Linked DNA regions of Homo sapiens: regions 1, 2, 3, 5, 6 and 7 are each linked to region 4. The links are contacts of gene promoters, found by promoter capture Hi-C in blood cells and fetal thymus (Javierre and others, 2016). All regions are on one chromosome and are shown on one strand. The core of a region is centred on a gene start or on the middle of the fragment in contact, and the rest is flanking DNA. Distances in the headings are between cores, read along the strand shown. Region 1 overlaps PCGF5 (polycomb group ring finger 5). Region 2 has its middle 60 kb from the start of PCGF5. Region 3 overlaps PCGF5 (polycomb group ring finger 5). Region 4 holds the start of BTAF1 (B-TFIID TATA-box binding protein associated factor 1). Region 5 overlaps XLOC_008559 (a long non-coding RNA gene). Region 6 holds the start of LOC124902480 (a long non-coding RNA gene). Region 7 has its middle 2.4 kb from the start of EXOC6.

Evidence for each region. The method cuts DNA at HindIII sites, captures the fragments that hold promoters and counts their contacts. A CHiCAGO score of 5 or more calls a contact.
Region 1: a contact is called between a fragment that was not itself captured here and the fragment with the promoter of BTAF1 in region 4, in 1 of 17 cell types (fetal thymus). The highest score is 6.1, in fetal thymus.
Region 2: a contact is called between a fragment that was not itself captured here and the fragment with the promoter of BTAF1 in region 4, in 4 of 17 cell types (naive CD8 T cells, fetal thymus, naive CD4 T cells and 1 more). The highest score is 7.9, in naive CD8 T cells.
Region 3: a contact is called between a fragment that was not itself captured here and the fragment with the promoter of BTAF1 in region 4, in 1 of 17 cell types (naive CD4 T cells). The highest score is 5.4, in naive CD4 T cells.
Region 5: a fragment that was not itself captured here is called in contact with the fragment with the promoter of BTAF1 in region 4 in 1 of 17 cell types (fetal thymus); the score reaches 5.5 in fetal thymus.
Region 6: a contact is called between a fragment that was not itself captured here and the fragment with the promoter of BTAF1 in region 4, in 5 of 17 cell types (naive CD8 T cells, total CD8 T cells, activated CD4 T cells and 2 more). The highest score is 7.0, in naive CD8 T cells.
Region 7: a contact is called between a fragment that was not itself captured here and the fragment with the promoter of BTAF1 in region 4, in 2 of 17 cell types (naive CD4 T cells and non-activated CD4 T cells). The highest score is 5.5, in naive CD4 T cells.

Annotation. Positions count from the first base shown.
Region 1 is chr10:91,243,717-91,247,590 of GRCh38, reverse strand. The region is part of intron 3 of PCGF5 (polycomb group ring finger 5); the gene reads right to left. Among named protein-coding and RNA genes, the nearest start is that of PCGF5, 25 kb to the right of the region's middle. The HindIII fragment of the contact is 9,970 bases long and covers 1-3,874 here.
Region 2 is chr10:91,159,077-91,162,744 of GRCh38, reverse strand. It overlaps a transcript of PCGF5 not described here. Among named protein-coding and RNA genes, the nearest start is that of PCGF5, 60 kb to the left of the region's middle. RefSeq lists silencers at 1-77, 178-267. The HindIII fragment of the contact is 4,422 bases long and covers 135-3,668 here.
Region 3 is chr10:91,264,084-91,267,769 of GRCh38, reverse strand. PCGF5 (polycomb group ring finger 5) reads right to left here. Exons shown (of 10, transcript NM_032373.5): 8 at 3,250-3,339. Among named protein-coding and RNA genes, the nearest start is that of PCGF5, 45 kb to the right of the region's middle. The HindIII fragment of the contact is 5,208 bases long and covers 1-3,686 here.
Region 4 is chr10:91,921,427-91,925,441 of GRCh38, reverse strand. BTAF1 (B-TFIID TATA-box binding protein associated factor 1) reads right to left here and starts at 1,672. Exons shown (of 38, transcript NM_003972.3): 1 at 1,352-1,672. The coding sequence starts at 1,365. RefSeq lists enhancers at 1,130-1,329, 1,940-2,049, 2,397-2,930 and a silencer at 1,390-1,689. The HindIII fragment of the contact is 1,276 bases long and covers 616-1,891 here.
Region 5 is chr10:90,981,028-90,984,946 of GRCh38, reverse strand. All of the region lies in intron 3 of XLOC_008559 (a long non-coding RNA gene), which reads right to left. LOC107984252 (a long non-coding RNA gene) reads right to left here. Exons shown (of 3, transcript XR_001747547.2): 3 at 3,671-3,727. Among named protein-coding and RNA genes, the nearest start is that of XLOC_008559, 36 kb to the right of the region's middle. The HindIII fragment of the contact is 2,263 bases long and covers 334-2,596 here.
Region 6 is chr10:91,198,251-91,202,216 of GRCh38, reverse strand. LOC124902480 (a long non-coding RNA gene) reads left to right here and starts at 3,739. Exons shown (of 3, transcript XR_007062240.1): 1 at 3,739-3,816. It also overlaps a transcript of PCGF5 not described here. The HindIII fragment of the contact is 2,159 bases long and covers 1,448-3,606 here.
Region 7 is chr10:92,844,178-92,848,123 of GRCh38, reverse strand. It overlaps a transcript of EXOC6 not described here. Among named protein-coding and RNA genes, the nearest start is that of EXOC6, 2.4 kb to the left of the region's middle. The HindIII fragment of the contact is 3,318 bases long and covers 607-3,924 here.

The DNA of each region.
Region 1 (3,874 bases), core at 1,001-3,500, 680 kb after region 4:
TCCTGCCTCATCTCCTTCATCCTGCTCAACAACATTACTCTTCTACAAGACTACAAACACATAGAGGTTTCTCACATCTTAAAAAAAACCCCAAAACCTTTCTCAACTCATTAACTCTTTTCAAACTATTATTCTGTTTCTCAATCTTTCCTTCTAACTGGAAAAAAATGTGAAAATAAAACCTACATTATTTCTGTCACATACTCTGTTTTGCTTCTTTTACTCTACTGAATTCTCAAAATCATCTATAACTTCCATATTGAATAGGTTTAAAATTTTTAGAATTAAAATTTAAACTTAAAAATTATTTTTTAAGTTTATATTTCTTCTATATTGCTCTGCAGCAGTTTGACAGTGTTGTCTAACACTGCCTGCCTCCCTGAAAATTTCCTTTGTTTTTTTTAATGTTCAAGTCTGTTCTTTCTTTATTACTAAGCATTTTTCTTTTTCCCAGCTACTTTTAAATCTGATATTCTCCCTTGCTTTGTACTCTGAACTCTTTGACCTTTTCTGTCTTCCTTGTGGATTTCATCTGCTTTTGTGGCTTCAAAACTAACATATAGGCAGATTATCTATCTATCTATCTATCTATCTATCTATCTATCTATCTATCTATCTATCTATCCATCTATCCATCTATCTATCTGCCTGACTATATATCACATCTCTGCTGATTTCAAGTTCCATATTTCCAACAGATGCTAAACATTTCAAGTACCTCCTTTTATTAATCTATGTCAAGATTGTCTCATCTATCCTCCTCCAATAAAATACTAAGTAGCCCAGTCATTGTCTCGCTTTTTTTAAACTAAATTTTTAAGTGATACCATAATTTTTCCAAATCAGCTCAAAATATGAGAATGATCTTAACTTCTCTCTTTCCCTTCATTTACACATTTACTCACCAAGCCACATTCAGAGCTCCCTCTCAATATCTGTCCCACCTATTCTCCCAACAATTCTTCCATTCCTTCAATTAATTACCATTCTGCTTTGAGCAGAGCAGAGACATGTTCATAATCAATCTTCCTAAAGTGCTAATCTGATTGTGTTAGTTCCCTGCTCAAGGACTAATTTCTCTCTACTACCTGACTTCATGTGTTTATATAACTTGAGTCCAACCTACAAACCATAACTGGTACTATTTGCTCACTGTCTCCCTTCTCTAGCCAACTGGCTTATTCAATTATCCCAAGAATTCCTTGTCTTTTCCAATTCATTTTTCTCCCTCATGTTTTACATCCTGGCTCAAATACTCTCTGTACTCTCCGACCAAACCAATGCTACCTTATTCTTCAAGACAAGGTCATTCGTAAAGTTTTCCCAGACTATTTAATAGTAGGAGTGAATAAAAAACAGCACTTCTCACTACATACAAACAGATCAGGAACCAACTTAGTTTCATTTCTGTTTCCTCTGAAACATTACTTACTACTTTGATGCCCTTTCTGTCCTTCCAGCCCAATTTAGGACTAATCTGTTCTATGGTCAGTCATTAAATCACTTCCTTACATGTACCCTTGATTTGTCTCTCTCTTACTTGCTCAAAATTATTTAGTACAACTCAGGTTAAATCCAACTTTCCATCAACTCTGCACTGGCACCCATGGCTGGATAAAAACACAACCATACTCCTTCAAATTCCTAACTACAACACAAACATGCCTTTAAGTTTGCCAGGAATCATACTACACTCACAAGTGCACTGATCCTCTCACTCCCCTGGACAACACGCTTTTTTCTCGCCCTAACTCTCCAAATCCCTTTCCTCTATCCTTAATTTTGACTGACAAACACTTTCTTCTCAATGAAAAATGTCAAAGCAATGAAAAACAAACTTCCACAGGCCCCGGCCACCATACCTACCTATAGCATCTGCACCATGTACTCGCTGTCTGCCTGCCTGTTGCTACAATTTTTTTTGTCAATGCTCCCACTGAAAACCAGTGTCTCCTCTTAGGCTGTGAGATTGCATTCCCTACTCTCCCACATGATTAACTTTCTGCTTTCTACTGGATCATTCCCTTCAAATACGCCATTATTTCTCCTATATCAAAACAAAATAAAGAACCTTCTTGGCTGCACTTGACAGCACCCCCCCACCCCATTTCTTTGCTCCCATTTGTAGCAAAACTCCTTGAAAGAGTTGTCAATACTATACTCACTGTTGCTAATTCCTCTCCCTCCTTTCCTCTCTTAAAACAACCCAGTTAGGTTTTTGGCCTCACAGCTCTAAAGAAAGTGCTCTTTTCAAAGTTGATGAACTCCATGTTGCTAAATCCAACCATGAATTCTCAGTTTTCACCTTACTTGTACCCATGAACAACAAATGACACAGGTGGATCACTCCGTCTCCTTTGATATACATACTATCTTCACTTGACTTCTAGAGCACCACACACTCCTGGATTTTCCTCTACCTCACTGGTTGTGCCTTCTCAGTTTCCTGTGCTGGCTCCTCCTCTTCTCTCTGAACACTTAATGCTGGAGTTCTCCAGGGCTCAATCCTTGGTCCTTTACTCGTGCCTCTCTGTACTCACTCCCTGAAGTGATCTCATCCTGCTTACAGTTTGAAAGACCTTCTATATGTTGAAGACTACCAAATGTTTTTCTCCAGCCCAGACCTCTCCCTTTGAGTTCTAGACACATATATCCACTTACCTTCCTCTCTTCTCTGAAATGAATAACTCAGCATGTCCACAATTGAAGTCCTGATCTACCCCTTCCTTGCTCTATTATTAATCTTCCCAACTCAGTTAATGGCAACTCCATTCTTCCAGTTGCTCAGGTCAGAAATCTTAAAGTCATGTTCAACTCTTTTCTTTATCCCATATCCTATATCCAATCCACCAGCAAACCTTGCTGGATCTACTTTCGAAATATATTCAGAATATGAGCATTTCTTGTCCCCTCTACTGCTACCACCGCTCACCAGGGTCATTGCAATTACTTTCTAACTGTTCTCCCTGCTTCTACCCTTGCCTTGTTATACGCGCGGTGTTCTCAACACAGTCATCAACATGTTCATATCGGATCAATCCTCCAACCAAAATCCTGCAGAGGCTCCCCATTTCATTCAGAGTAAAAGATAAAATGTTTACAGTGGCCTACATGGCCCTTCATAATCTGGAATCTCATGATCTCTCTGCTCTTGTTGCCCAGTATTCTGTCCCTCACTCACTGTTCCCCAGCCGCCCAGGTCTCCTTGCTGGTCGTCCAACAAGGCGTAGATACACTCCTGACTTAGGCACTCTGCACTGGCTGCTCCCTTTACCTGGAATAGGCATGCTTTCCTAGACCTATCCATGGTTAACCTCTCACAGTCTCCAAGTCTTCGCTTAAGTCTCACTTTCCCACAGAAGCCTATCATCACCATCTTATTTAAAATTGCAATCTGCCCCCACTTCACACTCTTGACCTCCTCACCTCACAACACTTTCCTCTTTCTTGCCTTTGCAATTTTCACTTTCTAACATACCATATAAATTACTTATTATATGGTTTATTGACTGTCTCTCACTACAAAAATATTAAATCTACAAGGGCAAAGATCTTTATTTTGTCTGCGAATGGACCTCAAGCACCTAGAATAGTGCCCAGACACAGCAGGCATCCAGTAAATATTTGCTGAATGAATGATTCCCCTCATGGAGCTCTCCATCTTCCTTCTATTGTCTATATAAGTGATGACCAATAGAAATATAATGTGAGTCAAATATGTAATTTTAAATTTTTAGTAGGAACATTAACACCAGTACTTTATACTTTTTATATAAAACTAACTTTAATGTTTTGCTATATATTAAAATATCTTTAATAATACATTTAGTAATTTTTATTTATTGAACAATAAAGTTATATTTAGTGGAAAAAT
Region 2 (3,668 bases), core at 1,096-3,595, 760 kb after region 4:
CGCCGCCCGCCAGGCCTCCTCGAGCCGCCGCCGCGCAGCTCCCGGAGCGTCCTGCCGGGCACGGCCCACGGCGGTGCCCAGGCCTGGAGGGGACGAGCCGCGGCGGCTGCCCCGGGCGGGCGTGAAGCCAAGCTTTCGCTCGGGGCTCGCAGTCTCCCACCTGTAGTGGCCCGACCTTGGCAAGGAGAAATTCGAAACTTCTCAGGCCGGAGACTTCGAATCGTACAGCCTCTGAGGGGGCACCTTCTCCCCCCACAGACGGAGGAAGCGTGCCCTTGAATAGATGGAAGGCAGCTCGAATGTCAGTATGCCTCCCTGGCGATGGTCAAGTCCAGGCTTCCCGTATAAGCTGCCCTCCACCCGAGAGCTCGCAGTTTCTTTTCCTGCCTCCAGCTTCTTTGCTTCTAATCGCAAAGTCCCCCCACCCCACCCCACCCCCGCCACCCCACCAGAAGTGACCTTGCCGCCCTGATGCTGAAGATCCTCCAGTGACTCACCATGGCCTCGAGCCTTAATGCCTCATTCTCAGAGTCCTCAATAGCTGGGCCTCCATTTTTCAGTCTCCCCTCCACTTCCCTACCCTCACCCCAAAGCCTCCGTTTACAGACAACACCTGAAATGTGTCTGTCCTTTGACACTTTATTTTGATCCTTCTCTGTTCTCTGCCAGAATACCCCTTAGCCGCCTCCACCTGTCAAACTTTGTTGGACTCAGCTCCTGTAGCCGTCTCCTACCATCTCTGTGCAGTCTTCCTGCTCCCCCAAGCAGAATCCCCCCTTGTGGCTGGCATCATTCTGACCTGGGGGTCAGTTGTGTGCATGTGCTGTACCCTCTCTGATCTGTGGATTCCTTAAAGAGGAGTCTGCTTTTAACAGAGCTCTGGTGATGGGAGAAATGAAAGCTGTAAGACTAATATTGCCTCCGAGTGTCTGCAGCTCTGGTGAGACTGGAAAAGTTCAGGAGTCTTTATCAAGAGGCTCTCCTGATAGGTCCGCAAACCTCATCTTGCAGGAAGCAAACACTTCCAAAAACTGAGCATGCCCTCCATTTTTCCTGCGTCTCTATATCTCCTCCCCACCACACCTAGCTATGTGCCCTCCATACTCATAATGGGCACTTAAGTAACCCTTGAGGAATAAAATTGAATTCTACAGAGATGTTCCTTAAGCCAAGGCTGGCGGTGATCAAAGAGAATAGAGTAAATCATGAAAAAGTAGACATGAACCCAGTCATTTTACAGCTAATTCCTAGGCTAAGAGCCTTCCGGCCCTGTTAGGTAGTGTGGGTTTGTCGCTGTCTGATCACACACTGAAGTAGACCCTGACCCTTCTTGACTCCTGGGACTGCTAGATTTTTTTCTCCGATGCGCTGCTTGCAGTCCCATTAGGAAAAGTGTCTTTGAACTCTGCAAGTGAATCCAGCGAAAGTATTCTTTCCCAAGCGAGTCAATAGCAATAATTTAATGCAGCAAATTAGTTACAAGTGTTGAAAGAACTGGACGTTCAACTAGGGTAAGGTGAGGCAATCCTGAGATTAGCAACTGCTGGACGTGCCTTCTCCCCTGAGGCTGGAGGGGCAAAGAGAGGAGACAGCCGGAACCCTGGAGGGCTTGTCCAATAGGAGTTGGAGCCACAAAGTTAGTGCAACTACTGCGGCAGACATCTTCCAAAGTAGGGGATGAGAGTCCCCCTGGCTTCTCCCTGCCTCCCACCCTCCAAGCCCACCCAGTGGTGGAAAGCAGGAGAAGCCAGTGGACAAGATGACAGAGGGCAGGGCTCAGAATCCCTACAGAATATGTGACAGCCGCAAAAGGAGAATGGGTCTGAGAGCCCAGCGGCAAATGACTGGCACCTGGGCTTGGGTGCTGCACCTGGTTGCCTCTTCCTTTAGGCCGGATTCCGCAGTGCAGCAGGAACTTTCTCTTCCCGAGGCCTAGAATTCTCTCCTTCTTACTTGTCCCTCTTTGCCCTTCTGCTTCCATTACCGTTCTATCCTCTTCTTCGCCGTCACTCCCTTACATTTCTTTTTTCTGTCTCGTCTTGTGTACTCTGGCTCTCGTTTTTTCTTTGTGTTCCCATATATCTCCGCCTGACTTCTTTTCCCCCCCAGAGTCTCTTCTCCCCTCTTCTTGTCCTACTCCTCCCTGGGCAGGATGGCAGCTTTCTTCAGCATGAAGGAGATGACCAGTTGCCTATGGAAGGAAGAGATTAGGAATTATCCTGTTGCTGCCCTTCCAGACAGTGTAGTAGATATTTTACAAACGTTCTCATTTAATCTTCATCTCACTCCTACTAGCTGGGCAACATTTAATATAATCTGGTGACTTTGCTATTGCCTGTCACAAGGAAGGCTTTGTGCCCGTCACCAACAACACTGCTGACGGTTCTCTTACCTTTCCTGTACGTGGTTCCCTGCAACCTTTCTTCTTATCCTACATCTTTTCCTTTCATTAGCACAGATACTTCGCCCAAATCCCAACGCCCAACAGTCTAATACATCCGCACTTTAAATCCCCAAAGACTGAGAATGGCTATTTAGAGGAGGTGCATTTCAGCTGGCACTTGAAGGATGGATAGATTTTCAACAGATGGAAATGGAGGAAGGGTATTCTTGGTGGAAGAGTAAATTATGTGGTTTACGTTGACTGAAACAAGGGATAACTAAGAAATGAAGCCATATTTCAGAAACTTGTCTTCAGCTCTCAGTTCTCTGAGACTATTCCGAAACACAGATTAACCATGAGCGTATTAAATATAGATATGATTTATATAATTAGAATCATAGTGTTTAAAGCCAGAAAGAATTTTCAACATTGTTTGGTGCAACGTGTCCAGTTTTAAGTGAGGGAACTGAAGCCCAAAAGACTTAATACCTGGGATATCATAATGATTAAACATGGGCATTAGAGTTTGACTACCTGTATTCAAATCCCTACTTTAACAAATTTTAGTTTATCTGACCTTGAATTATCTGTGGGTAAGTTTTCTTATCTATAAAATAGAGAAAAATGATAGAATCTACTTCAGTGGGTTGTCATGAGAATGAAATATCGTCATATGTAAAACACTCTTGCCCAGTTCAGACTGCCATAACAAACTACCATAAACTGGGTGGCTTAAACAACAAACATTCATTTCTCACAGTTCTGGAGGCTGGAAGTATGACATCAGAGTGCCAGCACAGTCAGGGGTTGGCTGAGGGCCTTTCTTCCTCCTCTGGAGTGCTGACTTCTCATGGTATCCTTACATAGTGAAAAGACACTGAGCCTCGGAGCTCTCTGGGGTTCCTTTTATGAGGGCAGTCATCCCATTAATGAGGACTCCACTCTCATGACTTAATTACTTCCCAAAGGCCCCACCTCCCAATACCATCACACTGGAGGGTAGGATTTCAACATATGAATTTGAGGGGAGCCATGAACATTCAGTCAATTATAGACATGTTATAGGTGCCTGGCATATAGACAGTACTCATTAAATATAGGCAAAAAAAAATTATGACTTCCTGTGGCTATCCAGCTAGTAAATACCAGAACTAGAACTGGTACCCCAAGTTTTTGTGGCCCTAATTGTATGTTCCCTGCATTATTTGAAGCTATGTCTTATGATGCTTGTTTAACACCATCTGTGAAGATATGGTGCTCCTCTAGTCTGCTGTTTAAAGAAGTG
Region 3 (3,686 bases), core at 164-2,663, 660 kb after region 4:
AAGAAGGGATGTGATCACAACAATATGCTACAGGAGCTCAATCAAGAAATGATTGTTTTAGTGATACTGCTGCATTCGTCCATGTCACTCAACTGTCAGAATTCATCTATTAATATTATAATAATTTGTAATTGGAAGTTGAACAAAAATTGAAAATTTAACAGAAAAAAAGGAAGCTGAGATTCAGATAAATAAAAATTATCTGTAGGATATATTTTGCATAACCATTACCTTGTAAAAGATAACATTTTCATTCAATTTATTCTTTGAACAAGTATTGATTGAGTATATATGCTGGGCACTGCCCTAGGTGCTGGAGATTTAGCAGTGAACAAACAAAAATCCCTGTCCTCAGATTATATTTTACTTGGAGGACAAACAATAAACATAAATAAGAGGCATAATATGCCGGAGGTGGTATGAAATACTATGGAAAACAATAAGGCATGAAAAGGGAGTAAGAATGCCATCGGGAGAGGGGGTTGTAGTTTTAGAGGAGGTCAGAGGCCTCACTGAGAAGGTGAGGTAGAAGCAAAATTATTTAAGTGAAGGGGGTAAAGGAAACGAGGTAGGTGGATACCAGGGGAGGTGAGGGCAAGTGGGGTGTGGTTGAGAAAACAGGCCAGTGTGGCTGGAGTGCTGTGAGGCCAGGGAGACAGAATAAACGAGGAGACAGAGTATCTGGGGAAGACTGTATGGGGGCCACATATGTAGGTCTCTAGAAAGATTCTGAATTTTACCTAAATTAAACATTATTGGAGGAATCAGAGAACGGAGTGGGCATGTTCTAACCTGTCCTAAGAGGATCACGCTGGCTGCTGTGTGAGGTGAAGATAGAGGTGGGACAAGGGTGGTGGCACAGAGCCTTGCTAGGAGAATGGCGATGGTGGGTTGGACTAGTAGTGAAGTGGATGTAGTGAGACATAGCTGGATTCTGAATGTATATTTTGATGGTGAAGGTTACAGAATTTGCTAAGAAAGGATGGATGAAAGAAAAAGGCAGCAATCAGTGCTGACATCAGGGATTTTGGTCTGAGCAACTGGAAAAATGGAGCTACCAATCTTAGAACTATTGAGGTTGTGATGACTGAGGGTGAAACAGGTTTGGAGAAGGAAAGCAACTAAAAAACAGGTTTGTCACACCAAGAAATGAAATGGGCTAATATATTACTTTACTGTTGCACTAAATGTAAAAGGTAGTAATTTTTCTGTTTATTGGTTTAGTTTCCACCTGAATGATAAACCATAGCTACTGAATCACTTTTTGAACTTTTATTAAAATATGCCTTAAACAACCAAAAAATTTAAACTATTCACAAATATGTAATCAGAAAGGTAATTAGAGTAAGGACTGATTTAAATCATAGTCTCTTACTAAAAATGTCTATAAATTAGCTCTTTCATACTTTGACATTAAAATAATGGCAGCTGGGGCAACTTTGGGAGGAGTTCTTGTAAAGAACAAGTGAGCCACTTGTAGAGGTCGTGCAGTGGATGACCACTTACATCTCTTTAACCTTAAGGCAAGTCTATTCATCACGATGATTTCAGTCACTAAAACACACTGCAATGCCCGCTAAACTATCAAAGAAAGCTGAAGTTACATTCAACACAATATTATGTGTAATATCATAATATCCATTCCTCAACAGTATTGGGTAAGAAAGAATTTACTACCTGTGCAATCTGTACCTGGTACCTGGAACATTTTGGTTGTAAGGATTAACTGAGGGTGATTGATGTATGTACAATCATTTAAAACATTATAAAATGTTACAGAAAGGCAGGTTGTTAATTTACCAAATACAAAGGTAGTTAGATCTTTAAAAATATGAGCCACAAACATGTATGACAAGTTCTTCAAGGCCACACACTATTTGGTGGCTGGTGTTAGAATGTAATTTTTTCTTCCTGCTGCTAGCGAAAGCGTTCAGTCTCACAAAGAAGGCTTTAAGCAGGGCTTTTACTACATCTCAAGCAGGAAAAAAACTTCTGATTTACAAATGTAGGTGCTTCATTTATTATTATATGATATCAAGACATTTCTTCTGCAAAGAGCCAAATATCTTACCCATAAGACAATGAGTTTTTGAGGCTTGTTTTATAATAATTCCACAAATGTTTACATTCAATATAAATATGTTTTGGAAATATGGTAACATGGCAACCCTCATTATATCTGGATTCTTATTTCTTATTCTTGTGTGAGGTCAAATTTCTTAATTTTGTTTTTTTTTATGATTTACATTTTCATGAGAAAATATAATAAATCTAGTTTACAGAATAAATTACACAGAGTATGGCATATTGTATCATAAACACAGAATCTTAATGTCCAAAAGATAATCTTAGATGTTATCTACTCCAACCTTATAGCCAATCTTAATTCATATTTATTTATTTATGCACTCAGATTATGAAGATAATTTCTGATAGCATTACTGCTATATTCCTTAGTGTCATATATGAGTCCTACAATCCCTAGTACCTCAAATTTGCCTAATATCCCATGCTTGAACCTAAGTTATAGTTACTACTATAGAACTTAGTAGAACCTAAGTTACTACTGTATTCCTTAGTCTCATATCTCAGTCTTATATATTAGTCCTACAGAATTAACCAGAATCAAAGACATAGTTCAAAATACAAAATTCACCTTTTGGGTTTTTTGGGTTTTCTTTGGTTTTCTCCTTTGAATCATTTCTCCCATATGCTTAGGGCCTAAGGCACAATAATCTAATTCTGGCATCAGAAAGCACTGCAAACTCACTTACCCTTAAGTCCGAGTTTATATTTTCAACGAAAAGGAGGTACCTGAAAGAAGATTATTTAGATTCTACCCTATGTGTCCCCTCTACCACAACCAAAAATAAACACCCTTATCAACCATTAATCATATTAGGGGAGAACTTAAGTTTCCCCCACTCCCATTCCATATACATAAATGTTCCAACAACTTATTGGGTTTAAAAAATATGTCATTTTCTCTGTCTTGGTTAGTAGAGTCCTGAACATATTTAGATAGGGTTTTAATCTCACTTTAAATCTAATACAATCACATTTACCACAGACCTTGATTTTATACATAGGACCAATTATCAGAGTGCTAGGAGAAACAGTAGCAAGAAAAACCAGTTTCTTCTCCTTCCCAAGCTAGTTTGTCTTTTTTAGTTTCTAATATTGTTAAATTTGAGTAACATAATGGTATATAACTAAATAAACACATAGGTAAATATAAAAGCAATTTACGTTTTCGCCTCTTAGTCGCCATCTTGTCATGTAGATGAATTCCATAGTATGATCCTTCCCCATAATTTCACCATTGCACAGCACATCCAACTTTAAAAAGAATCATTATAGATCTATTAACATAATGTTGAATTCAAAAGTATTTTGCATATTTTTTGAAATTTCAAAAAATATTCAAATAGTTGGAACAAAAGTATTATCCATTATTTTAAATAGGAGGCATTTATTCTCCTAAAGCATTAACAATTTGGATATGTTACTTATATACTGTTACTATGCTGTATACTATATACAAGATACTGTTTATCTTGTCCCATATACCTGTATCTCAAGTTCATACACATAATTTACAAATGCAATGTAACCTTTCTTAGTCCAAATCTCTGTCATGTCTCTTAGAGGTTTAAGGCATAGTTCTGTGACTGCCCCTTTCTGAA
Region 4 (4,015 bases), core at 423-2,922:
GTGAAAATGCACAGGTTGCTCTAAGAAAAGAAGTACTCATCTCCTTAAACACTATTACCTGATAAATGTTATATTAAGTTTACATATCAATGCATTTACAATGTATATATTCATGCATTTATATGGGAGGTAACAAATTAGAAGATACACCTTTCTATATTTGCAAAAATGTAAAATGTCACTTGTATTCTCTCAAGGCAGTTTTATTTAAAAAAAAATTTCCTCACATTGAATAGATTATAAAATAAAAATCAGATGCCCCATACTACGGTACCTAGCAACCCCCTTCACCCAACTCCCATGGGCTTCTCCCACACACTATTTCATCAGTCATCTAGGGAGTCTGTAAGGAATGGGTTATCCTTTCCCTTGCAAAACAGATAAAACTTGTGCACTTAATACGCTCAAAGAATGTGTTCAGTTAATTATAAAAAAATGAAAACTATTTGTTTTCATCATTTATTCCTTCAGTCTATATGGTAAAAGAATCCAATTCTCATTAAAAGTTACCATATCAACTCTAAGGAACTTGGTGAATCCATCCGATCACTATCACAGAGGAACTATCCCTTAATTACATGTACAGAGGGTCACCAAATTCCGCTTACAAAAGCTTTCCAACCATTCTATCATACCGGAGGAAAAAGTAATGTTTCTCCTATAGCTATACAAATAAATGTCGTTAGTTTTTCTATAGTTTTCCTGGGCTTTCCTGTTGACAGGCAATATTTCAAAAGAATATAAGATCTGTGATTTATCTTCCACGCCTTAGTTACGGAAAATGATGCTAATACGATAATTGGCTTAAGGTTACAACGCTGACGTTGGAATGTTTACTGCCAAACAAAAGGAGAAATTATACTTAATTTTAAAAAACATCTCAGGAAAGAACATACCCCTAAAAACGTAAATTAAAACTGGTAACATAATTAGACGGTCTCTTAGATAATAGTAATTCAGGTTTCCCCTCCATCGACAGTAACTACCAAGTTTTCCCATGAAATGGAGGTTAGGGACCAGCCTTAGAATACTGAGAAAGATAAGAGACTCCCCTAGAATCGAAAGAGGGAAGAGAAACCAGAGAACAGAAACATGGTGAGGAAAGAGAAAAAACAGCTCTAACGTGCCAAGGGGTCTATTAACAAGAAAAAGGCATTATTGAACCGATTTACCCAGGAGTAACCCGAGCCCAAACCCCCGCCGACCACGGGGCGAACTCCGAAGTCTACTGAAGAAAGCTCCAGAGCCCAGTGACAATGAGAACCGCTCTTCTCTAGGAGTGGGGGCTCTAAGAGGAGACCATGCCTTCCCTGAATCGCCTTCCAGTTTGCTCGTCAGGAGCAAGACCCACCTGGAGACCGCCATGGCCGGGCGCCGGCGGTTCGGAGCTCCCCGCGACCTACGCGCCGCGCAGCTGAGGCGCTAGTTTCCAGAGAGCTGAGCGGCGCAGGCCCAGGCCGCGGAGCACAGGGGAGCGGCCGGTGCGGCGTGGGGCGTTCCAGCGCAGGCCCTCGGGCATCTGCCCTGCCGCCTACCCGAGCTCGTCCCCGCGGCGGCCGGTAAGCAGGGGTCCAAGACGGTAGCGGAGGCGGCAGTCCTCCGACCCGCACGACTTCAAACCGGGTACCCTCAGCTCCGCTCTTTGCTGACGCGGGCGTCGGCACGCACAACTGAGCGTCAGCGCGCCGGAAGTGACGTAAGCTCACCGACAGGAGCTTAGCTCGGCGCGAGCGCCTTTGGTTTGGCGGCACGCGCCTAAATAAAAGCGCTTTGTGCTGATGTGGAGAGGGTGTCTAGTCTTAAAACTAGGGAAGGAGGTGAAGTAAGGGTCCCCTTATTTGACAGAGAAGGAAAAAGGCGATTTAGTCCAAGTCCTGGAACTTCGAAAGCTTGGTTTCTAATTCCACACTACCCAGATTCTGCTTCCCACCGTACTGCATCTAGGAAGCAAGATCAGAAGGACCTTAACATGCTCTTGTCCAGGTGGTGAAGCCAGTGGGAGGAGTGAAAGCAAAAAGTCGCTATGACACTGAAGAAATGGCTCAGATGTTTGTCATTATTTGCCAGAAGTTCTGCCTAGGTATTGGAGAGAAGGTCTTCTGACCAACGATTTTGCCAAGTTTGATTTCTCAATTGTTTATGTTGTTTGTACCATCATTTTCTCAGCCAGCCAGATTTGAAAACTACCATTTTTAAATTTTTGTTCCTTTGGGGGACTTATCTGGCTTTTCAATATTTTTAAGTTCATTAGGCTTTTAAACACTTCTGCCAGGCCCTTATCATCTTACACTTGATTTTTTTTTTTTGACCGAGTTTCGCTCTGTCGCCCAGGCTGGAGTGCAGTGGCGCGATCTCGGCTCACTGCCAACCTGCGCTTACCGGGTTCAAGCGATTCTAAATGTGCCTCAACCTCCCGAGTAGCTGGGAGGCACACGAGCCCCACGCCGGGCCAATTTTTTGTATTTTTTAGTAGAGACGGGGTTTCGCCATGTAGGCCAGGCTTGTCTCCTGCTCCTGGCCTCAAGTGATCTGCCCGCCTCGGCCTCCCAAAGTGCTGGGATTACAGGTGTGAGCCACTGCGCCCGGCCCTTAAACTTGATTTTTATGCTAGTAGTCAAAATAATATTTCTCCAATTTTCAGTTCAGCCCATTTTATAGGCCAACAGATTAATCTTCAAAAAACCTCACTGCTTTTTATCATGTCGCTCCTATGCTTATAAAGCATGTCCATTGGCTTCTCATTACCTGAAGAGGCTATGTCTCAATCCTTGAGTCTGTTTTTCATCTGTAAAATGAGGCTAATGAGAAGTACTGCAGAAGATTGTGGGAATAAAATGAGGTCATGAATCTAGAAGAGCTTACAAGAACTTTGTAAACCATAAAGTAGTATATATGTATGTAAAGAGAAAGAAACTAACAAGTACCTGCTGTGTGCTGGGCACATGACATGCATTATCCATATAATTTGTAGGGAAGCCTTGAAAAGTTAGTTTTAATCTTCGTAGACAAGGAAACTAAGCTCAGAAAGGTTAAGTAATTTGCCTCAAGATTCAAGCTAGTAATAATATTTATTGTCCAGTCATTCAACAAATGTTTGTCACCTCTCTGTATCAGAAACTCTGCTTGGCGGTGTTCATGCTATTAAAATCTAATCAAGTTGATGTTCAAGATATCTTTACATTTTCACTTTAGTCACCTACTTGCCTCATCAGTTTATCTCCCACCATTCAATAACAAGCAGATACTTTTTACTGATCGTGTACAGCAATCATTTAGCCAAAATTAAGCACCTACCATATGAGAGACTGGAACTTCTGAAGAAACCAGAACAGACAAGGTGCCTACTCTGGTTGAATTTACATTAAAAGGAAAGGAAAAAGAAAATAGATAAACATTGAAAATATATTTATGTGCTATGTAAAGAGAATGATGGAATTAATGGTATGATTAAAGACCTACTCTTACTGGGTAAATCAGGGAAAAACAGGATTAGCTTAAGCTGAGCCCTAAATGACAAGAGGTAGCTAAATGTGTGACAATCTGGGAGCCTTCCAGGAAGAGGGTATACGTAGTGCAAAGGCGTAAGAGAAGTCTGCTCTGTTGGGAAATGAGATGGGAGAAGTAGAAAGGGATCATCGTAAGGAATTTGGACTTTGCTCCATATGAAGTAGAAAGTCATAGAGTTTTAAGCAAGTGAGTAAAATGATCTTAGTTATATTTTTTAAATCTTTTTATTATCAGATAATTGGGTATATAGTCTAAATGGCATTAGAAGAGAGGAAAGGACTGGTGGTGTAGATTTGTAAAGGATAGTGTAATAATCAAATATATTGATATTGGACCGGCTTGTTTTTAAATCCTTTCTCACCACACTGAATCGCAGTGTCTCCAGGGGGAATTTTAGAACCTCTCTAAGCTTCATCTGGGAAATGAGGATAATAATAGTACTCATAGGGTTGCGGTGATGATTAAATTAATGCACATAAAACATTTAACCAAGTGACTGCCACGAGAA
Region 5 (3,919 bases), core at 216-2,715, 940 kb after region 4:
TCTAGTTGCAATACAAAAATCGTAGTCCTTAAGACTTTCCTATATCCTATTTCTGCTTCCAATTTCCTATTTCTGCAACTTTATTCCTTCCAGATTGCAGCAAGCTCACAGAGCAACTCCTCACCTATTCTCTTCTCCCAGTGTGGTCTCTCCGAAAAATCCTACCCATGAAAGAGAAAAACCCACAAAAGGTGTCATCTCCATAAATGCAGCATGCTGCTGTTTGCAGATTTTTGGAAAATGTTGAATTCAACTTCTCTTTCAAAATATGACTGAGAAAACATCATAGTAAGCTAATTGACAGCTGACTTCCTATTCTTCTTGCTGCAAGCTTAAGAGGGCTTTTATAAAGCAACAGTGAAGGAAATGCAAACTATATCAAGATTAGAATGGCTTACGAAAACTCTGCTTTTATTTACATATATTTACTGAGTCTCTATTTTCCCCTTTCCACTCTTGGGAAATACTGATGATCAGTGCTGGTGCCTGAATGGGAATTGGTGTGACAGGTCTGGAGGGGACAGGCTGAGGGCTGGGCTTAATCAGAATGGATTGGCAGGTGGCCTTGTGCACCACGCTGGTGATGGGGTCTGTTGTTATAGAAACCAGATTCCTCCGGGAGCACACAGGTAGGGGCAACAGGTCTTTGGGAACAGAGTGCAGATAGTAAACCCTGGAACAGTGCTGCAAAATTCAGTGCAGGCTGACAGGCAGACTCATGCACAATGCAACTGAGCATGACAGTCAAGCACATAAGAGAGACCAGCACTCTGTGTTCAGGGTTGAAGCTCTGTCTTTCCTTCCTCCAGGCAGATGTCGGTTAGCAGGTGTGCTCTGCCCTCTCCTCACCAAGGCAGAGCTTTGCAGGTGCTTGTGATTATGGAGCCAGCAAGAGTTAGGTCTTCTGGGAGCCTTTCAGCGGTACTAATGTCAGTTACTTGTGGGTTCCTATTTTTTTACAGTCAATTAACTGGAGTTTCACACAGTGTTACGAAAAACATGGATCCATGTGAGTTGCCTTCCTCTTCCTGCTCTGAATCTCTCTCTCACACACACAAACACACACACACACACATCCACAGGGTAACACAAATACAAGTAACAACCTTGACACACACTCTTACATAGGCCCATCCTCATCAACCTCCCCTTCATGGACCCACCTTCATAGGTATTTACATTTCTCAGGTTAGAGAAGGCTTGTATTTCAGAGAATAGAGCTCACCTGTGTTTTTAAACATTTCAGCTAGCAGGTAGACGTTTATTTTGATGTAAGGTGGTTGTCAGGCTTGCAGAAATTTGGGTTTGAAGTAATGAAGCTCCATCTCTTTTCAAAACAGCTAAACTGCCTTGGTTATGATTGTTTGTTTTTTAACTTCCCTGAGAGTTTTCATGGTGTGTGGTTTCAAAATAGCCCTGTCAGAGACTCTGAGGTCGACACTTGCTTGCTCACCAGTTTTTCCAGGATATAAGAAATGTGTAGGCCGCCAGACGGGAATAAACCTGGCCAGGGTGGCCTTGTTTTAAGGTGTCTGTGGACCAAGAACCTTTCTGCTCTGTGCCTCTGGACGAAGAATCTTGACATCAATTGCCAGTAAGACTCTCCCAGCCCAGACACCTCATGTTAGAAGTACCCAGTAGGGTTCGTTAACCCATGACTTTGTAAAGACAGCAAAAAAGGCCAACAGAGAGTGATTGACTCCAACTCTGAAATGAGAAGTATGTACAGTTTATTGCACAGGTAACCAGAACACATTTCTGCGTCCCACAAGCCATAAATAATATATAGTTCTAGAATCAATTTCCACGGTCTTTTAACCAAGGACTTGTCTGTAGGCAAATATCTCTATCTGATCCTGTTCAGATCTTTGTTCCTTTCCCTGTTCCAGTTCTCATATATTTGATGCCCTCTTCAGCGTCTCTTTCCATTTAAGTTCTGAGCCCGTTTATGTGGATGGAGCAGAGATACTGCTATGTGTTCGCCCAAGTCCTACTTCTGAGCACAAAGGAAAGCTCATTTCCGAGCTTCCCAGCCACTAGATGTCATTGACTGAGCCCTGCCAGTGAAGTGCTAGGCTGGTGATCAAGGCCACTTCCATGAATGCATGGAGCAGAGCCTTCCTCACGCCTCCCTCATACAGCCATACCCGACTGTGATGGGCGAGGAGCAGATCCTTCCTCACGCCTCCCTCATACAGCCATACCCGACTGTGATGGGTGAGAAACAAACCTTTATTGTGTTACTCTAGCGAGATCTGGAGATAGTTTGTCACAACACTCAGAATAGACTCTTACATCACGGTTGGAAATACTAACTTTGAGGAATTCTTAGTTTGTCTGTCTACTATAGCTCAAAGTTCAGACTTTGAGAATATTTCTTGTTGACCATAGATGTGCCCAGAACTGCTCTGATCTAATGCAATGCTTATTGTCTGGTGTTCCAAGAATGGCTTCTCTGTATGCAATGCTTGAGTTATCTATTTTTTAATATGCTACCTGAGTTTCATTGCATAGCAGGGGTTTAAGTTATGTAGCTTAATGATGGAGTTATGTTCTGAGAAATGTGTCATTAGGCAATTTTGTCATCGTGCAAGCTTCAAAGAATGTACTTACACAAAGCTAGATGGTGTAGCCTACTGCACACCTAGGCTATATGGTGTAGCTTATTGCTTCTAGGTTGCAACAGCATGTTACTGTACTGAATGAATACTGTAGGCAATTGTAACACACTAGTGTTTGTGTATCCAAACATTTCTAAACAAAGAAAAAATACAGTAAAAATATAGTACAAAAGATATAAAGTAATACACCTACATAGGACACTCAACACGAATGGAGTTTGCAGGACCAGAAGTTGCTCTGTGTGAGTTAGTGAGTGATGAGTGAATGTGAAGGCCTAGGACATGACTGTACACTATCGTAGACTCTATAAACACCTAGTGTACACCTAGGCTACACTAAACTCATTAAAAATTTTTCTTCAATAATAAATTAACCTTAAAAATTAAACTATAACTTTTTTTTTTTTTTGAGACAGAGTCTTGGTCTGTCGCCCAGGCTGGAGTGCAGTGGCACCATCTCAGCTCACTGCAACCTCTGCCTCCCGGGTTCAAGCAATTCTCCTGCCTCAGCCTCCTGAGTAGTGGGGATTACAGACACCCACCACCACACCTGGCTAATTTTTGTATTTTTAGTAGAGATGGGGTTTCACCGTGTTGGCCAGACTGGTCTCGAACTCCTGACCTCACGATCCACCTGCCTCAGCCTCCCAAAGTGCTGGGATTACAGGTGTGAGCCACCGCACTCAGCCAACTATAACTTTTTACTTTATAAACTTTTAAATTTTTTGAAAGTTTTGAACCTTTTGTAATAACACTAAGCTTAAAACACAAACACTCTATGGCTGAACAAAAATATTTTCTTTCTTTATATCTTTATTTTGTAAGCTTTATTCTAATAAAAATTTTTAAATTGTCTTTTACTTTTTAAACTTTTTTAAAAACTAAGACACACACACATTAGCCTAGGCCTACGCAGAGTCAGGATCATTAATATCACTGTCTTCTACCTCCACATCTTGTCCCACTGGAAGGTCTTTGGGGCAGTAACAGGATGGAGCTGTCATCTCCTATGATAACAATGCCCTCTTCCGGAATACCTCCTGAAGGACCTGCCCAAGGATGCTTTACAGTTAATTTTATTCCTTTATAAGTAGAAGGAGCACAGTCTAAAATTGCAATAAAAAGGATAGCATAGTAAATACATAAATCAGTTACACAGTCGTTTATTATCATCATCCAGTATTATGTACTGTACATAATTGTATGTGCTACACTTTCATATGACTGGCAGTGCAGTAGGTTTGTTTACACCAGCATCACCACAAACACATGAATAATGCATTGTGTACTACGTTATG
Region 6 (3,966 bases), core at 1,278-3,777, 720 kb after region 4:
CGACCATCATCATCATAGCACTTATACAGCACATTTTATACGAAGGCATGGTTCTAAGCAGTGAACATATAAAAACTTATTTATTTCTCACAATAATCCTAGGGGGTGAGTACAATTATTCTTCTCAATTTGGGAAAGAAGAAATTGAGGCAAACAGTGGTTACACCTGGTCACAATGCTAATAAAATGCAAGGCTTGGATATAATCCTGGACAGTGTAGCTCCCAAGTCCAGGACCCTCCCTTGATGCCACCCTGCTTCTTCTAACAATTTCAAAAGCATAGTGCCAGTAAACAGTCCTAACACTTCAGAAACTCTGAGGTTGGAAATCACCACATTAAAGCACAGAACCTTAACTAAATGTTCATCACTATGATCAAAAGTCATCAAGAACAGATTAAAAGGTTTTCATTCAGCCTTGTTAAGAAGGCAAAAAAGTAACACACTTAAACAAAATTTCATCCAAGATGGGTTTCTTAAAAAAAAAAAAAAAAGGTTTTCTGGAAAATGAACTCAATACAGAACAAATGAGGTGTTACAGTAGTGTTAAAAAATCTTTCTGCAGACATTGTTTTTGTTCTTGCTGCCTTGGGGTTTCTCAGAATTCCCTCAGGGGCTGTGGGTGGAGGGAGGAGGGGAGAAGATAGTTCTCCACTCCACCTTCAAACACATAACTCTGTTTACGTATTTTTTTTACACATTGGGCTTCCTGGTAAGCTTTCACTTTGATGGGACCTAAGCTCCTGTTTATGATTTGAATGAGTTCCCCAAATTTCATGTGCTGATAACTTAATCTTCAAATTCATACGTTGATGGCATTTAGAGGTGGGGCTTTGGGAGGTAATTAAGATTAGTAATGTCACTGGGGGGACCATGATAGGACTAGTGGCTTTACATGAAGAGAGACCTGAGCTGACACACTCAGCCCCTCACCATGTGATGCCCAGCTCAGAAGGTTGCAGAGGGTCTCCACCGGCAAGAAGGCCCTCACCAGATACCTCACCCTTGGATGTCCCAGCCTCCAGATACGTAAGCAATACATTTCTTTCCTTTATAAATTGCCCAGTCTCAGGTATTCAGCTGTAGCAACAGAAAACAAACTAAGACAGCTCCCATGAAAATGTGGTCTAAGTGGGCAGCTCTTCTCACTTTTATAAAACTTTCCCCATCACCTCCCTGGTGTCTCAGGAGTTCCACTTCACACTATTTTTCCATTTGCCTCTTGAATCTTGTGCTTGCCCAAGCTCTGACCATTCTCCCACCTGACCCTCCCCCTTTCCACTTCCCTCTGTCAACAGTAATCACGAACACAGCTAATGTTATCAACCTCCTACACAGCAAGCTCTAGGTTAATATTTTTACATCAATTACTTCATTGAATGCTCTCAACACCCTTATGAATTGGGTTCTATAATTGGCCCCACCGTATACAGGAAGAAACCAAAGCTTAATTTGCCCACTGTCCAATGACCACAAAGTGATGAATATAGGATAAACTAGATTGCCCACTAGAAAGGCCCCCAACTCTTCACCAGTACACAATCCTGCCTCTCAGCCTCTGCCAATTATGTTCAAATCTCCCACTGAGACTGTGTTCAAGACTCAATATCTTAAAAACAAAACAAAACAAACAGCACCTTCCCTTCTGGCACAGTCCCTTATAGCAGCACCTCAACAATGACAAATGCAATGCACAGCTTTCAATGCAATCTCATCCATACCTGTTGATATTAATGCTTATAAAATCTTCTCTTCTTCTTTCAAACATATATGCGCACTTCCCAGAAAGGGGCTACATCCCCTGTTCTTTCTATACCCTCACTCTCTCTTAACTAGATTAGTTGAACAATTTTGGGCACCGAGTAGGAAGATATTAATAATCAGCATAAAGAACCCTGGTCAGTAGTCAGGATACCAGAGTTCTGGTTCAGTTTCAGGCAATCCCCTATAGCAGACACTGTCACTGTCTCCTCCTCCCTCTTATCTCCTCCACGCTCATCTCTACATGCTGAAGGCAGCCTTCTTGAACACCTGTGGCTTTTATTCTGGCTCTGGGAGCAGGCTGGGCCCTCTCCCACAGTGAGGCAAAAATGCAGGGAAGTTAGCATCTCCAGGAAACAGCCCTCAGTCAAGGAGGATGGATAGTTGATGGGCAAGTAACCCAATTTCCCTGTCCTTTGGGTAGGATAGCCTGAAGCGTGTAGACTAGTTCCTAGAGTTCCTTAAACGGATTGAGCTCCAGTTGCCCACAGCAGTAATTCTCTTGAAACTATACCCTTTATTGCTTTCTTTTTCCTCCCTGTCCCACTTCTCTACTTTCCTGTTGATATTTCTTGGGAGAACCTCTCAACTAAACCACTTACTCTCAAATTCTTGTCTTGGGGTCTGTTTCTGGGGAAACCACACTAAAATTTATTCTCCTTTGTTTATTTACTCCACTTCCCTATCTGTCAAACAAGAGGGTTGCATAAAGGATTTTTATGGCCTCTTTGGACTCTAACATCCTAGGATTTCAATGAACTCAATCAAATTTCAGTATTAAACTAAAACTAGCCTTGAATGTTACTTCTTAACTAAAATACTGCATCATATTTTGGAGCCGTGGCTGAATTTCACGTACATTAATGTGGAAGATGCTGGGAAGCAGAGATCAGATCCCTCTTCAGAGAAGCCTTTGGGCTGCACTTGATGGGGATGTTGTTGGCCTCTTGCAGGCATGTCCTCAGCTGCAAAGATCCTCCTTGCCCAAGGTCACTTTCCCAAGGATGCAAGGACTGAGGGATGCTGGAGTATAAAGGCCTGGCCATCTTGGCCCAAGTCAAGACAACTCAGAGGAGTCATTCTAGTTCCAGAGCTCCTGCCATGCTGGCTCTACAGCTCAACTCCTTTTCTGCCCCCCTTGCTGCCTTCCCACCCTTCAAAGGGCATTCCCTAATAAACATCCTGGATACAAAACTACACCTGGGAGTCAGCTTCCCAGGGAACCCAACCTGTGACAAGTACATTTTCTACTTGTTTATTATGTCATAAAATTCACAGACTCTGGAACTTTGCTTGTGGAAGCAGGGATGATCCCTTGAATGCTGTAAGACCCAGAAAGTGGTAGAGACACAGAAGAAAAAACTAGGCTTTTAATAAAATGGGAGAGACAGATACAAACCAGCATGTATGTGATGCAGTTTCAGTTTCTGAACAAAAACAATAAATACATAAAAGGTCAGCATGGCCAGTGAAACTGAAAGCTAAGAACTCAGATGAGGCAATCACAGAGGGTGATGAAAGAGAAGAACATCTGAGAGAGGAGGAGAACAAGAATGGCCTGGCAAGAAAAGGAAGAAGACTAATACGAAACACACTCAGCCAAAGACCATGGGGTAGAAATAACCCATCTGAAGAAGGGCTCTTCATTGCACAAAACTACATCCAATCCTTAAGAGGTACTGCCCCGTGGTATGACAAGGCCAAAACGTCATCCTGGCAATTGCTGCTAATTAAACTCAGGATTGATTCAATGCTACTGAATAGGCCAGGGAGATTCCCATGGTGCTGCCACTAATCAGGGCCTTTACAGAAAACTCCCAAGAAGATCGAAGGACAGAGACAAGCTTGAACTCTGCAGCCCGTAGGCAGGTCTGCCTTCTAGAGAGAAAGCCAGTGATGCTGCTTTGCCAATGGTCATGCTGAAATAGTGGTTTGGGGTGACCTCCAGGAGAGTAGGGGTACTAGGGGTAGGTAAGGAGGGTGACTGAAATTTAAAACAAGGTGTCAGCAAAGGCATTAGTGAGAAGATGGCATCTGGGTAAAGACCACAAAACAGGTAAGGAAGTTGGTCTTATAGTTATCAAAAGGATGAGTGACTACACAGAGAGAAAGGAAAGTGTCCTAAGCAGGAACGATGCTGATGTCCAAGGTTCCCCCAGCAAGGGGGCCAGTGTGGTTGAGAATGAGCAGATGGGACTGAGGTCAG
Region 7 (3,946 bases), core at 1,016-3,515, 920 kb before region 4:
GGGACATTTAACAAGGGCCTGATGTACTCTGGGTCGTGGGGAGTCAGAGAAAGGAAAACATGCACTCACGAAAAGCAAAATTGCATGTGATAGTAAGATTTATTTTAGGAACGAATAAAGATCCCAGTTGACCATGAAGACCGCTCCAGGTGGATTCATGTCCCCGCCTGCAAGAAGTCCACAGCGGCCAGTCAACTTGGAAATAAATTATAAGCGACATAAAAAATTAAATGATGAGAAGTTAAGACACTTGATGGCAGAGATACCAAAAAAAAAAAAAAAAAAAAAGGCCCAGGGCGATGTGTAATTCATACCAAAGTCCGTGAACTCAGGTGCCCCCAGGTCAGAGTAGCTGGGTTGAGAAGGGGTGAGAGCTCTTGAAAGGGGGTTAGCAGCAGGGAGGTGGGAGAGAGAGGCAGGGAGGCTTGGACAAAGGTATCAGTGTAGAAAAAAGTCGTGCTTAATGACATGTTTGTGGGACACTGAGTAAACCAGTTTGTCATGATCAAAGCAGGGAGGAAGGAAGACTAAACAGGAACAGAATGGAAACCTAGCCTGAGGAACAACTACTTTCTGCTCTACATTAATCCAGGGCTTTGAAAAGCTTCCCTTTGAGTCAACCAAGCTCTTTATCCAGCTGTGTAACTCACTCACCCTTAGTGAGCTTTTACTTGAAACCTACCTCCAGCCTCCTCCCCACAAACATCCTGGGAGGTGGTATTGTGCAATAGTTAGAGCATGAGCTCTGAAGACCAGTGTCCGAAGACATTAATTCTTGGATTAATATCACTTGACAGCTGTGTGACATTGGGCAAGAACCTAGTTCTTTTATATGTCAGTTAAATGACTGTAAATGACAATGGCAGTGTCTGCCTCATATTGCTGTCCCATGGTGTATGAGTTTTCCATTGTTGCTTTAACAAATCACCACAAATTGAGTAGCTTAAAATGACTCAGACATATTATCTTACAGTTCTGTACGTTAGAAGTCTGTCACAGGTCTCACTGGGCTAAAAATCAAGGTGTCAGCATGTCTGTGTTCCTTGCTAGAGACTCTGCGGGAGAATTTGTTTCTTTGCCTTTTCCAGCTTCTAGAGGCCACCCACATACCTTGGCTTGTGGCCCCCTTCCTCCATCTTCAAAGCTAGCAGCATTACATCTCTCTGACCATTCTTCTGTGGTCACATCTTCCTCTGACTCTGACTTAGGCTGGAAAAGATGCTCAGTTTTTAAGGACCCATATGATTAGAGTGGACCCAACCATTTAATCCAGGATAATCTTCCATCTCAGGGTCCTTAACCTTAATCACATATGCAATACCCCCTTTGTCATGTAAAAATAACATATGCACAGGTTCCAGGGATTAGAATGTGAGCATCAGTGGGACCCACTGCCTACCAAACTTAGGAAGGGCCCTATAAAACATTGCTAATGCCCTCCTTCCTATTAATCTGGAATCTTCAGAGCAATGGATTCCAGCTATACACATCCATTGAGCTAAGACAGTCTTCCATTTCCTGCAGAGAGACCTAGCTTTTCATTCTTTTTGTGGGAGGGGATAAAATTTGTCTTCTTTTTTTTATGTTTCAGTTTCAATTTTCAAAAGGTTATTTTCCCCTCTCAAGAACTTCTTAGGTCGAGCACAGTGGCTCACACCTATAATCCCAGAGCTTTGGGAGGCTGAGGCAGGAGGATTGCTTGAGCCCAGGAGTTCGAGGCTGCGGTGAACTATGATAATGAGCAAAATGAGGAGAGCAGGGCATGTGGCACAGGCCAGTTTCCTATTTGACCAATGTCTCCAGCTGGGGAATTACTTTCCTGATCATTCCTTCCCTAGAACTCTACCCCTTTTCTTCACCAGTCCTGATACCTTTTATTCCAAAGCTGGCTCCAAGTGCCCCTGCTCTGGGAAACCAGCCCTGCTTAGGCACTCCTCAGGCCAGCCCTGTTTCAACACCTGCCCATAGAGATTACTTCAACATAAGCAGCAGTATCTTCCCCGAAATTCAAGTGAACATGGAAGGAAGTCCATTTACCACTTCTCCTTCTGAAACAGTTTTTGCTGGTTCCCTCTGAGACTTCTGACAGTTCCGTGAGTACCTGGAGGTTTTAGCTAAGAATTCAAAGCTAAATGTCCTAAATAACTAATTGCACATTTGTTTTGTTTGTTTGGTTGGTTTTTTCGAGACAGAGTTTCGCTTTTGTTACCCAGGCTGGGTAACAATGGCGTGATCTTGGCTCACTGCAACCTCCGCCTCCTGGGTTCAAGTGATTCTCCTGCCTCAGCCTCCGGAGTAGCTGGGATTACAGGCACGTGCCACCACGCCCAGCTAATTTTGTATTTTTAGTAGAGACTGGGTTTCTCCATGTTGGTCAGGCTGGTCTCAAACTCCCGACCTCAGGTGATCTGCCCGCCTCGGCCTCCTAAAGTGTTGGGATTACAGGCGTGAGCCACCGTCCCCGGCCCTAACTGTACATTTTAATCATGGACATAGATATATCAAATATGTCAATGTGGGGTGGGGGAAGCCTATCCAAGGGATAAATGATTTTTTTTTTTTTTTTTTTTTGAGATGGAGTCTCTCTCTGTTGCCCAGGCTGGAGTGCAGTGGTGCGATCTTGGCTCACTGCAACCTCTGCCTCCCGCTTTCAAGCGATTCTCCTGCCTCAGTCTCCTGAGTAGCTGGGATTACAGGTACATGTCACCACATCCAGCTAATTTTTGTATTTATAGTAGAGATGGGCTTTCACCATGTTGGCCAGGCTGGTCTCACACTCCTTCCCTAAAGTGATTGCCCTGACTTGGCCTTCTGAAGTGCTGGGATTACAGGCATGAGCCACCACGCCCAGCCCCAAGGAGTGAATGATTTAACGTCTGCACTGAGAAGGTTGCGGAGTAGCAGGGCACAGACAGGCAGATTGCAGATGCATGTGGAATTATTTTTTGGCAGTGGATATTGACTTCCAGAGATCAATCCAAAATCTCTTTTCAGGACTCCTGGAAGAAGAAAGATACACCAGGAAGACCAGCAGGACAGGAGATGCATTTTGTGTCCAGTATAAAAGTAATTGGCAAAGTAAGGATTTGACTTGTAAATAAACTCTTAGTCATTAGGAACTTAACTTTGCGCCTTTTATCTACAGACTAATGACCTGTCTTGGGAAAGCGCCTCCCTCAGAATGAGGTTGTAGAGTGCAACTGCTCTGGTCTGGCATTTAACTACTTGAATTCAAATTCCAACTCATCTCTTACTAGATGTCAGGCCTCAGGGAGTTACTTAACTTGACTAAGGCTCACGTTCTTCAAGTGTGAATTAAGGACAATAAGAATCCCTAGCTCACCAAATTATGTGAGGATTAAAGAAGATAATATATGTATTATGTTTAGCCTAGAGCTCAATCAACATTAGCATTGGCGACTAGGGTTATCAGGCATTTGCTAGTAAGCCAGAGAGCCCAGCATTTTAGCCTCCTCTTTGATAAAATAAAAATAAAAACCAGACACATAAATGTTCTTTTTCCTAATCATTAAAAAAAAACCTGATTGTGTATCAGGGTTTTCTGCATGTTTGGTGGATGTAAACCAACTGAAATATGTTTCCTGCTTTTGTAGAGAGGGAAACAGGAACATGTCTTTGGGTTGGATTCTTGGTTCCAGACCCATTTTAGTGAACCCTCTGGATCCTGCGCTTTTAAGGCAAGCACCTTTCGTTGTCCTTGGGAGCAGTGCTCACTCATCCTTGGAAGCACATATCATGGTGGTGAACAAATCACTGAGTCTGTCTCCATTTCCAGGAACTGCTCCTACATCAGGCACAGGGACGATGCCTGTATTGTTCACTGCCCAGCCCAGTGCCTTGCATATAGTAGAGGCTCAATTAATAAGTGAATGATCCACATGCAAATACTTGTCGTATTAAGCTTAATGTTGTAAATGGCATGTTT